Regions from separate parts of the Homo sapiens genome. Here region 2 is linked to region 1. The links are contacts of gene promoters, found by promoter capture Hi-C in blood cells and fetal thymus (Javierre and others, 2016). All regions are on one chromosome and are shown on one strand. The core of a region is centred on a gene start or on the middle of the fragment in contact, and the rest is flanking DNA. Distances in the headings are between cores, read along the strand shown.

Region 1 (6,500 bases), core at 1,602-4,101:
GTGGCACACTCTTGGCTCACTACAATCTCCACCTCCCGGGCTCAAGCGATCCTCCTGTCTCAGCTTCCTGAGTAACTGGGACTACAGGCGCGTGCCACCACACCCAACTAATTTTTGTAATTTTAGTAGACCGGGTTTTACCATCTTGGCTATGCTGGTCTCAAACTCCTGACCTCAAGTGATCCACCTGCCTCAGCCTGGTTAAGTGCTGGGATTACAGGCTTGAGCCACCGCGCCCGGCCGCCATATATAAAATTTAACTAGATTTGCAGAAACTCACGTGCGAAGACAAAGAAGGGTCATAAGCGATTTTGTGATCTTCATTACTGGCACATACAACCATAGAAGGATCATCACACAGCAGATCCTGAGGGGGAGCCATTTCCGGTGTCAGGTTGAGAGAATTAAACTCTGTCTTTGCAGAATGAGAGGCAATACATAGATTGTAGGAATAGGGCAAAGTCCCCTCGCTGTGGTTGGGAGGAACCCCGGGCCCAGACTTGGAGCAGAGACCGGTTTGAAAGCAGCCCTCAGTGTCGAGGCTGGAGGAACGTCGCAGGCGCAGGGCGATCGCTAGAATCACCGCGAGGAGAAAGAGCACTGAGATCAAGGCCAAGGCCACAACCAGGTAAAACTGCAGTTCCGTCTGGGGGTCAGAGGGCTCAGGGCGGTCGCTGAGGTCTGGCAATACCTCTTGCAGGCTATCCGCGAAGATTAGGTGCAGCGTGGCGGTGGCGGAGAGTGGCGGCTGTCCTCCATCACGCACAGCGACCAGCAGGCGCTGGCGGGCCGCGTCCCTGTCGCCCAAGGCACGCGCTGTGCGCACCTCACCCGTGCGCAACCCCAGGCTGAAGAGCCCGGGCTCGCTGGCCTGCAGCACGTGGTAGGACAGCCAAGCGTTGTGTCCTGAGTCTGCGTCCACCGCCACCACCTTGGTCACCAGGTAGCCGGGCTCTGCGGCGCGTGGCACCATATCGAAGAGGGCGGAGCCATCAGGCCCCAGCGCGGGGTACAGCACCCGTGGCGCATTGTCATTGAGGTCGCCCACCAACACGCGCAGGCTCACGTTGGCGCTGAGCGCGGGGGAGCCCTGGTCCCTGGCCTGCAGTGTGAGCTCGAAGGCGCGCAGCTGCTCGTGGTCGAAGGCGCGCTGCGCGAACACCACCCCGCTCTGCGGGCTCACGGACACGTAGGACAACAGCTCCCGCGGCTCCAGGTCACTGGCCAGAATAGAGTAGGAGACTCTGCCGTTGGGTCCCAAATCCGGGTCGGAGGCGCTTACTTGTGCAATGGAGGCGCCAGGTGGGTTGTTCTCAGACACGTGGACCACATAGGAGGCCTGATGGAAAACAGGTGCATTGTCGTTGATGTCGGAGATGTGCAGGGTGATGCTTGTCCTGGAGGAAAGGGCTGGTTTGCCCTTGTCGGTGGCTATGATTGTGACGTTGTAGTCTGCTGTCTGCTCCCGGTTTAGGGCTCCAGCAATCACCAGCTTGTAATAATTCTTCGAGGTGGATTCTAATTTGAAAGGAACTTCTTCCTGAGTATAGCATGTCACCATGCCATTTTGCCCAGAATCCTTGTCTCGCACTTTTATGAGGGCTATTACAGTTCCAAGGTCTGAATCCTCTGGAATCTGGTTAGAGAAGGACATGAATGTCACCTCTGGGGCATTGTCATTCTCGTCAACAATTTCTATTTGAACATTACAGTGAGCTGTGTGTACTCCTCCATCCTTAGCTTCCACACTCAACACATATCTACTTGTCTCTTCAAAATCCAATGTGCCATTGGTTGTGATGTCGCCAGTATTTGGATTGAGATTGAAGAGGCTGGTACTTATTGGGGAATTGAGGAAGGCATAGGTGATCTCTGCATTAATGCCCTCATCCTGGTCTGTGGCCATCACCCGCAGCACGGAGGTTCCCCACGGTACGTTTTCTTGGAGGCTAACCCTGTATACCTCCTGGCTAAACACGGGAGCATTATCATTGGCATCCGTAACTCGGATCCAGATATGGGTGGTGCCGCTTAGAGGCGGGTCCCCGCCATCCATGGCAGTCAGGATTAAGCGATGAGAGCTCTGATGTTCCCTGTCTAGAGGTTTTTCCAGCAGTAATACCGGATATTTACTTCCATCAGGACTTTCCTTCGTTGACAGAGAGAAGTATTGATTGGGGTTGATGGTGTATAACTTCAGTGAATTGCCTTCCACATCTGCATCTTGAGCAGAATCCAGAGAGAATTTTACCCCGGGTAAGGCTGACTCACAAATTTCTAAGTCAATGCCTTTTGCAACGAAACGTGGTGCATTGTCATTAATATCTTGGATTACAACAACCACGTGGAAAACATTCATTGGGTTTTCAGCGACCGTTTCGAATTCTAGTGCACACTCAAGTTTCCTTCCGCAAATCTTCTCTCGATCTATCCTACCGTTCACTAACAAATCCCCGCTCTCCAAACTAACGTTGAAATAATCCTCTGCACTAACCCGCAGTTTTCGAGTTGGCAACTCCCGGACACTGAGCCCCAGATCCTTGGCAAGTTTCCCCACCCGTGAGCCGTTGGCTAGCTCCTCTGGAATCGTGTATCGGATCTGCTGGGAGATGGCCCCGCAGAACAAAGACAGCAGGAAGGGAAACAGTACCTGACTTTTCATCATTTCGGCTTCTCTGGCTCTCTGCATTTCAGGAACTCTCCGCGGAGCTTCTTTCCTCTGGGATGTTTTTCAAAAAGAAATGGCAGCACCCTGGACTTCTGTGATTTGAGCTTAGGACTTATTAGTTAGGCGCTCGAGGGTGAACAGGAGCAGCGTCTGTGCTCAGTGCACCGGACAAAGCAGGAAGGCACCCTGCCTGACGCTCCTGCAGAATTGAGAAGCCTTCACTTCCTTTTGGTCGACAGCGGCGCCCAGAGGTTGTCTTGGAAAACTGCACAGGGCCCAGCTTTTTATCCTCAAAGCGCAACCTCTTGAATCTATGTACCCTGTCTTTAATTTGCTGGAGGGAAACACATACTCACATTTTCCCCTTTACATTTCAGTTTTCTAGTTTGTCATCATCAGATAAGGGCCTTCATCATTTCGTATTCTTTTTTCATTTAAAAAATTCACAAGGTACACTGCCATTTTTTTCAGTTTTGGGGGTAAAAAAAAATCTTCAGTGATTTCACTATATTTATAAACTCTGGCATGACTGCTGTATCCAAATAAGTGAATTGATAATTTTTATTTATATTTTTAGTTGACTAAAATACCTACCTTTCTGTAAATTCATTGGAATAAGCTCCCTTATCTAGTATTTTAAATCTCTCCATATATATGTTATCAATTCAGTAATACTTTTCAAAAATAGTTTTTGCAAAAAAGAGGAAATCACAGCCTTACTATTATGTTATTTCTCTTCTTTATAAAATATAGATAATCTTTCCAGTTAAGTAGGACAAAGTCTGATATTTTGTTAAAAGGGCCAATTTAGTGTTGGGGTACACATACATGCTTTTATGAAGTGGAATCTCATATAATGTACATTTGTTTTATGAAACCAGTGCTTCTTTTTTATATGAATGTATATTAAATACTCTAGGCTGGGTGCAGTGACCTGTGATCCCAGCACTTTGGGAGGCCAAGGTGGGAAGAACACATGAGGTCAGGAGTTTGAGACTAGCCTGTCCAACATGGTGCAAGCCATCTCTACTAAAAAAAATAAAAATTATCCAGGCATGGTGGCGGGTACCTGTAACGCCAGCTACTCGGGAGGTTGAGGCAGCAGAATCACTTAACTCAGGAGGCAGAGGTTGCAGTGAGTTGAGATCATGCCACTGAAGTCCATCCTGGGTGACAGAGCAAGACTCTGTCTCAAAAACATTCTCTATAATGCCAATTCTCAGCTCCAGCCGACTTATACCATTAATGAGCAAAACGAGTTTGACTTGACCACTGGTAAATATTGGAGAGGTATTCAGAGTTCTTAGACACCCAATTTTGGAACTTATTCTGTAGTTCCAGGCTTAGAACCAGTCTTGGTTCAAAGCAAATCCCTTTATTTCAAATGCATTACCAAATGAGATCCAACTCAACAATTTATTCTACTATTTTGCAGTGCTCACCCATACTCATACTCTATTCGAAACAGCCTATTATCTGTTTTCTTAAGATACCTTTTCACTTGTTTCCTTGCATCATGCCTTTATACTTTCCATTCCTTTTACTATGAACTTCTCCTCCCTTTCTGTTGTAGTGGATTCTTGCCCATTCTTCAAAAAAATAAAAATAAATCCTTTTTAGTGAAAATGGGATGTCTGAGACCTTCCATTACCTGTACAAGTAGGTGGAATTGTATGGGTTCCATACTCTCAGTGTATTTTCATGACACATATGTAGGCTATGTTTCATATAGAATTCTTAGAAATTATCTTTGAGCATCCAAATTTCCCCTGACACAGCTAATTAATTTTTTTTCTCCTTACAGGGAAAGTGATACTAATACTATAAACATTTTTTTTTCTAAAAATGATATGTTAAAAGTTACGTGCCTTTTTCTTTTGAGACAGGGTCATGCTATGTTGCCCAAGTAGGTCTCAAAGTCCTAGGCTCAGAAGTCCTCCCCTGGCTATGGGCCTTTTAAATTCTGTGATGTATTTCCATGTTTCAGTGAGAATACACCTTACTCTGCTTACAGCTTTTGTGTTCTGGCCCTGTTGTCTCATACATTTAAATGTGCCTTTTCCTAATATATTGAGGGAGGAATCTATTCTTTTGTTTGAGTTCTAATAAAACATATTTTGGTCTAATTTTGGATAACTCTCATATGATTTCATGAGTGAAAATAATTTCATAAATTGCAGAATAAGCCAACAATTTCTGGCTCAAGAAAGTTGTAGAACATGACAAAAGAAGGGACTTCTATTCCATTGTTGGAAGAGATTGTCTGGAAATCTCCCGCAGAGGCTGAGACATATTCCTTTACATGTTTTTGATGTCCTTCTCAAGGACAAGAAATACCACTCCAAGGCTCATAATAATTTAGCTAGGTGAGCTTTCCACCCTCAGGCAAAATGTTGAAATCAAAATGAATACACACATAAGCATATACATTAGGCATATGTAACAGGCACTATAGGTAAAACCATTTGACCAGCCTCTACTTTTTTTTTTTTTTTGAGATGGAGTCTCTCTCTATTGCCCCAGCTGGAGTGCAGTGGCCCAATTTTGGCTCTCTGCAACTTCTGCCTCCTGGGTTTAAGCAATTCTTCTGCCTCAGCTTCCCAAGTAGCTTGGATTACAGGCGCCCACCACCATGCCCAGCTAATTTTTGTATTTTTAGTAGAGACAGGCTTTCACCATGTTGGCCAGGGTGTTCTTGAACTCCTGACTTCAAGTGATCCACCTGCCTCAGCCTCCCAAAGTGCTGGGATTACAGCATGAGCCACTGCACCCAGCCTCTACATTTTTGTTCTCCAATTTTTATGTTATTGAGATGAAAAGAATAACAGGCCAGGCATGGTGGCTCATGCCTCTAATCGCAGTACTTTGGGAGGCTGACGTGGGCAGATCACTTGAGCTCAGGAATTTCAGACCAGCCTGGGAAACATAGCAATTGCCCCATCTCTACAAAAACAAAAACAAATTAGCTGGGAGGGTGGCTCGTGCCTGTAGTCCCAGCTACTCGGGAGGCTGAGGTGGGAGGATCACTTGAGTCTGCGAGGTCAAGGCTGCAGTGAGCCGTGATCATGCCACTGCACTCCAGACAGAGTAAGACCCTGTCAAGAAAGAAAGAAAGAAAGAAAGAAAGAAAGAAAGAAAGAAAGAGAGAAACAGAGGAAGGAAGGAAGGAGGAAAGAGAGAGAGGAAGGAAGGAAGGAGGAAAGAGAGAGAGGAAGGAAGGAAGGAAGGAGGAAAGAGAGAGAGGAAGGAAGGAAGGAGGAAAGAGAGAGGAAGGAAGGAAGGAGAAAGAAAAAAAGAGTGTCACCTGTCTTGGAAGGAGTCAAACATCATTTAATTTCATGGGCATAAAATATCTTTTATTCATATGTATTTTTACTTGTATGTATCAGGATAAGCTATACAGGTTGGAATGACAAACTCCAAAGCACAGGGATTTAAAATGAAAAAGGCCTATTTATCACAGGTATACAAACCAGTGTTGTGTTTCTCTCATCATAGTTACTCAAGGACCCAGGTAGAAGGAGCAGTCACAATTTCAAATAGTAACTTAGAGATCTGAAAATTCTCACAGTGGCAGATTCCTCTAGGAAGTGACACTTTACTTTCACTCACGATGTATTATTTTTTCCCTAAGCCCACTCAACCATAACCAGACCGGGGAGTGCAGTCCTACTATAGGCCCAGAAAGAAAGGGGGACAAATATTTAGTCAAAGGACTAATGACAACCTCATGGCTTTATTTCTCAAATACATATGTGTTAAAGCTTTATAATAACCACATTCTCATATTTGTTCTTAATAATCAAAGAAATAAATAAACTCACCTGAAGTA
Region 2 (6,058 bases), core at 2,855-5,354, 460 kb after region 1:
ACGTTGGGGACTTGGGGGCAAGAGTGGGGGGTGGCGAGGGATAAAAGATTGCAAATATGGTGCAATGTATACTGCTCAGGTGATGGATGCACCAAAATCTCACAAATCACCACCAAAGAACTTACTCATGTAATCAAATACCACCTGTACCCCCAATAACTTACGGAAAAATTAAAAATTAAAAAAAATCCTACTGAATCCAGAACAGGATGATTATAAAGACACAGCATGGTAAAACTGCAAAATATCAGACACACAGAAAATCTGAAAAGCAGCCAAAGGAAAATAAACAGAATACCTTTAAAGGAATGACATTTAGATTGACAGCTAAATTCTTGACAGCAACAATGGAAACCAGTAGACACTGGAATAATATTTACTATGTGCTGTGGGGGTCACACCTAAGATTATACCCTCAGAAAAAATGCTTTTCAATAATTATGATGAAATAAAGACATTTTCAGAAAAACAAAACCTGAAATCATTCCTCACCAGCATCTTTGGACTAAAGGAAACTCTCAAATTATTCTAACATGGAAAGACAATAATCCCTGATGAAAGGTCAGAGGGGCAAGAAGTAAGGAAGAGAAACAAAACTGGTAAATATGTAAGTACATTTAAAACAATGTTGATTGTATAAAATAATACTAATATCTTATGGGGTTTTAAAATATTTTTAAAGCATGACAGAAATAGTATATAAGTCAAAAGGGATTAAAAAGATTTTAAAAATGTAAGGTCCCTGCATTTCCCAGAAGGAGGAAGGGTTTCAGTTAACTTTTGATTTTGATATATCAAGGATACATGCTTAATTTTCTAGGGTAAGCACTAGCTATTCGGAAAAGGGCTTCCAAATAATACAGAAGGAAATGGAACAATAAAAAGTACTCAGTCATTTCAAAAGAAGATCAACAAAGGAAGGAAATAGAGACATAAAAATGGTGAGACAAAAATAACGCACAAAAAATTGAAATATTTGTGCCTAAAGATATCACTAGGTATTGTAAATATAAACTAAATAAATATTCAAGTTAAAATTTATAGATTATCTAAGAAAGAGTACTTGTTCAGGTTATCCATTGCTATATAGTAAACCATCCCAACTACCTAATATCTTAAAACAACTTAATATTACCTCTCCTGGTTCTGACTCAACTGAGTGGTTCTTGCTTGCAATCAGGTGCAGTAGTGTACTGGTAAATGCTTAACAACTAGGTCTCTGGGAAAAAAGAAAAACAAAAAACTCTGTTTTGTAGCATTTGCCTATTTCTGTGGCAGAAATACTCCTACCATGGCCAATTTCAAGCTACCAAAGTGACATCATTGAATCCAGAGTTGGGAATAAATTTGCATTATCAGTTCTCATAAGCCAGTAAAAGAGCCAGCTCCAACACACTACAGTCACCTGAAGCCTTCTACATTTTTCTGGCACCTAAGCTTGGAAAGCTAAGACAACTGGAGACTGGATAGTAATTTTTCTATCCATTTGGCTTCTCACAAGTCCAGCTTGAGCTTCTTTACAGTATGACAATCTCAAGGTAGTCAGAATTCTTACATGGTGGCAGGCTTCCCCCAAAACAAATATTCTCAGAGACCAAAGCATACTGTAAGACTTCTTATGACCTGACTTCATAAATCCCAGAATGTTACTTCCAATATTAAGACCAGTCAAAGTTCAAGGAAAGAAAAATTAGACTCTGCTACTCAGTGAGACAGTAGCAAAGAACTTGTGGAATATGCCCATAATACTAAAAGGTTTAAAATAAAAGGCTGGGAAGAGGACATCTCCTGCAAACACAAATGAAAAGAAGAGAAATGAATCAGTATAATTAATATAAAAATATTTCAAAGCAAAAACAAAAATCAGAAAGCAGAATTCTGAAGAAAAGTAAATTAGACAGGAAGCAAAAATAATATCAAGAATGGAAAGGGAAATATCACTATAGATTCTGTAGAAAGTATGAGCATATAACTGAAAATTTAGATTAAACAGGAAAATACCTGAAAAAATATTATCTACGTAACTGACTCGAGTAAATTAAACTCTGAATGGTCCTTATACTATTAAAATTGAGTCAGTAATCAGAAATATTCCCACCAATCAAAATCCTGATACAGATAACTTCAACAGTGAGTTCTCCAATCAAATAAGAAGTAATTCAAAGATTATACAAACTTTTACAGGAAACAGAAAATTTTCTGGAAGTTTTCAAAGACTATTCTTCTTTGTTAAGTATTCAAGTTATGCTAGATTCTTATTTATAACTTGAATACTTAACAAAGAAGAAATTAGGAAGAAAAACTAGGACATATCAGTATCACCTGGAATAAAGATGAAAAAATTGTTTTGAAAATTTAACAAAATAAGTAGTATATTAAAAGGATTATAAATTATAATCAAATTACGGTTATCCAAGGAAGTAGAGGTTGGTTTGCCATAAGAAAATCATAAATCATAAATTCAACACATTAACATTGCCAAAGAAAAAATTTATACCTCCCTCAAAAGATGCAGATAAAATATTTGATAACATTAAACCTCAATTCTAATGTTTTAATTTTTATGTTGAGACATGGTCTCACTCTGTCACCAGGCTGCAGTGGAGTGATGTGATCACAGATCACAGATCACTGATCAACCTCCCCAGATCAGGCTATCCCTTCAAAATTAAAAAAAAAAGTGGGTAGAATAATTCCTAGAGCTCACAAAGGGCTGGAAATATTTCACATTCCTACCAATCAGAGAAGAGAGACCTCTTAATGCACAGGGCATTAGGTGGTGTCCTCAGGAAAGTATTGCTGTAATAGAAGGCCGAATTAGTGCTACACTAAAAGCTGCTCTGAATGTGTACTAACAAATCTTAAAATGAAGCCTTGAAAGGAATAAATTGGTACTGAGCAACTTAACTTCACGTCAGAACTAAGTCCAAGACTCTTTAAAGCAGAGTTTCTCAACAGTGGAACTACTGACATTTTGAGCTAATTCTTTATTGTTGGGCGGCTGTCCTGTGCACGGTAGGATGTTTGGCAGCAATTGGATGGTGTTTAGCAGCATCTCAGAGCTCCATTATTAGATGCCAGTAGCAATTCCCTAGTTGTAATAACCAAAAATGTATCCAGGCATTGCCAAATTATCTCCTGGGTAGGGGGTAGAGGGGACAAAACTGTTTCTTATCAAGAACTACTGCTTTAAAGGAACACGCACACACATGCACACACACACAAAATCCAGCATCCGACAATGTAAAATTCACAATGTCTAGCATCTTATTAGAGATTACCAGTCATGCAAAACAGCAAGAAAATATATCCATAGAAGAAGATAGATTAAAAGAAGCAAACTAAGGACAAAAATGTTGAAATTAGCAGACAAGAAAGTTAAAACATCTATTATACATGTACTAATATGCTCAAACATATAGATAAAAAGATGACTATTCGGTGGAGACATGTAAAATAAATTTTAAAAGAGACAAAAAGAATCTTATACAGATAAGAAATAAATATGGTCTCTGAAATGAAGAATACACTGTTTAGGATTAACAGATATGATACTACAAAAGGAAAAATTAGTGAACTTGGAAAATATGTCAATAAAAGATATTCAAAATGAGGCACAGAGAAAGAAATGGACAAAAATAAAGAACGCTTCAATGACCTGTGTCATTGTAACATATGTGTTACTGGAGTCTCAGAAAGGATGGAAGGAAAGAAAAAACTATTAGAAGAAGTATGGTTGATTTTTTCCTGAATTTGATGAAAATGATAAATCCACAGATCCAAGAATATCAACAAACCCCAACAGACTAACATAAAGAAAACCATACTAAAGCACATCACAATCAATCTGCAAAAGTCAGGATAAAAAGAAAAGTTTTAACAGTAACCATGAGGGGTGGGGAGAGGAAGACTCATATATAAAAAAGCAAACATCTTATTAGAAACTATGCAAGCCAGAAGACAACTGAATTATATCTTTTAAAAAACTGTCAACTATGCCCAGTGAAAATACTTTTTCAAAAATAAAAATGAGATAAAGAGCCGGGCGCGGTGGCTCACACCTGTAATCCCAGCACTTTGGGAGGCCGAGCCAGGTGGATCACGAGGTCAGGAGTTCGAGACTATCCTGGCTAACAAGATGAAACCCCATCTCTACTAAAAATACAAAAAATTAGCAGGGCGTGGTGGCGGGCGCCGGTAGTCTCAGCTACTCGGGAGGCTGAGGCAGGAGAATGGCGTGAACCCGGGAGGTGGAGCTTGCAGTGAGCCGAGATCACGCCACTGTACTCCAGCCTGGGCGACAGAGTGAGACTCCGTCTCAAAAAAAAAAAAAGAGATAAAGATATTTCTCAGACAAAAGCTGAGTGAATTTGTTGCCAGAACATATGCACTATAAAAAATATTAAAGAAATTTTTCAGGCAGTAGGAAAGTGATACCAACTGGAAATTTGGATTTACAAAATAATAAATTTCGTTGCTAAATGTCTAATGTGTAGAACATGCCTGGCACATAGAGAACACTCAATAAGTATTTATTAAATGCATTTAATTAATGAATGTTCAATATAGGAGTTGGGAAGACCTTTCTTTTTTTTTTTTTTTTTTTTCAAGACGAAGTCTTGCTCTGTCACCCAGAGCTGGAGTACAGTAGCATGATCTCATCTCACTGCAACCTCCACCTCCCGGGTTCAAGCAATTCTCTTGCTTCAGCCTCCCAAGTAGCTGGGATTACAGGCGCGTGCCACCATGCCTCGCTAATTTTTGTATTTTTAGTAGAGACAGGGTTTCACCATGTTGGCCAGGCTGGTCTCGGACTCCTGATCTCCTGATCCGCCCACCTTGGCCTCCCAAAGTGCTGGGATTACAGGCGTGAGCCACCGTGCCCAGCTGGGAAGACCTTTCTAACTGAATATGCAGACCTTAAAATCCATAAAAGGAAAAAGATATATTTTAATTCATACATTTTAAAAACATTTATATATGACAAAATTAGTACAAACAAATGAATAGAAATAATATAGGAGGAAAACATATTTGTGATGCAGATAATAGATAAGCACACCATGGCATGTACACCTATGTAACAAACCTGCACGTTCTGCACATGTATCCCAGAACTTAAAGTGTAATAAAAAATAAATAAATATAAAAATAATTTTAAAAAATTTTATCTATAAATAGAGATACTTTTATTTATTTCTGAAGTAAAAGTAACAAAATTAGAGAAATGGAGAACAGATTACTGCTTGCCAGCATTAGGCAGGGAAGCAGATGTGGCTATAAAAAGGTGATATCAAGAATCTGGTTGTTACGGAACTATGTTACTTCTTTACTGTATCAATGTCAATATCCAGGTTGTGGTATGGCCCTACGCTTTTGTAAGATGTTACTATTGGGGAAAACTTAGTGAAGAATACATAGCATCTCCCTTTACTATTTCTTTCAACCACATGCGAATCTATAATTATCTCAAAATAAAAATTTTAATTAAAAATGTCAAAAAATAGATAAACAGTTAATATCTATAAGGTACAGAGAACTTTTCCAAACTGAAACTAAAAATTTTTTTTCAATAGAAAAGTAGGCAAATAACTTAATGGATAAATCAAAGAAGATCAAATACAAATCAACAAAATACATATGACAATATGCTCAAATTCACTAATACTATACAGGAATTTAAAATTAAAGTAACAGTGAAATATCATTTCACAGAGATCACATTAGCAGAAAGTAAAACCACTATTGCTTCTTGAGATAGAAAGAGTGCTCATAACTGGTTGGTTCCAAAATACTTGGAAGGCAATCCAGTGACATATTTTATAATTAAAATTATTAATATCTTTGATGCATCAATTCCACATCTGACAATCAATTTCGTAGAAATAACACCAATATTTTGGGAAATATATGAAATGATAGCACAGCATGGTTCATGAAGATAACAGAACACTTGACACAAAGTGATTGCCCATCATTAGGTAAATAATATATAATTGCACACTTACACTGTGGAATACTACACAGCTATTAAAACCATTAGATTTGCAGGGACTGC

The links. Contacts are between HindIII fragments. The CHiCAGO score rates a contact against its expected background, and 5 or more counts as called.
Region 2: a fragment that was not itself captured here is called in contact with the fragment with the promoter of PCDHGB1 in region 1 in 1 of 17 cell types (M1 macrophages); the score reaches 5.4 in M1 macrophages.

Annotation. Positions count from the first base shown.
Region 1 is chr5:141,346,450-141,352,949 of GRCh38, reverse strand. PCDHGB1 (protocadherin gamma subfamily B, 1) reads right to left here and starts at 2,851. Exons shown (of 4, transcript NM_018922.3): 1 at 281-2,851. The coding sequence starts at 2,689. All of the region lies in intron 1 of PCDHGA1 (protocadherin gamma subfamily A, 1), which reads right to left. The region is part of intron 1 of PCDHGA2 (protocadherin gamma subfamily A, 2); the gene reads right to left. It overlaps PCDHGA3 (protocadherin gamma subfamily A, 3), which reads right to left. Exons shown (of 4, transcript NM_018916.4): 1 at 6,493-6,500. It also overlaps PCDHG@. The HindIII fragment of the contact is 7,439 bases long and covers 1-6,434 here.
Region 2 is chr5:140,885,377-140,891,434 of GRCh38, reverse strand. All of the region lies in intron 1 of PCDHA1 (protocadherin alpha 1), which reads right to left. All of the region lies in intron 1 of PCDHA2 (protocadherin alpha 2), which reads right to left. The region is part of intron 1 of PCDHA3 (protocadherin alpha 3); the gene reads right to left. The region is part of intron 1 of PCDHA4 (protocadherin alpha 4); the gene reads right to left. It also overlaps PCDHA5, PCDHA6, PCDHA7, PCDHA8, PCDHA9 and PCDHA10, and 4 more genes. Among named protein-coding and RNA genes, the nearest start is that of PCDHA13, 6.3 kb to the right of the region's middle. The HindIII fragment of the contact is 5,330 bases long and covers 1,440-6,058 here.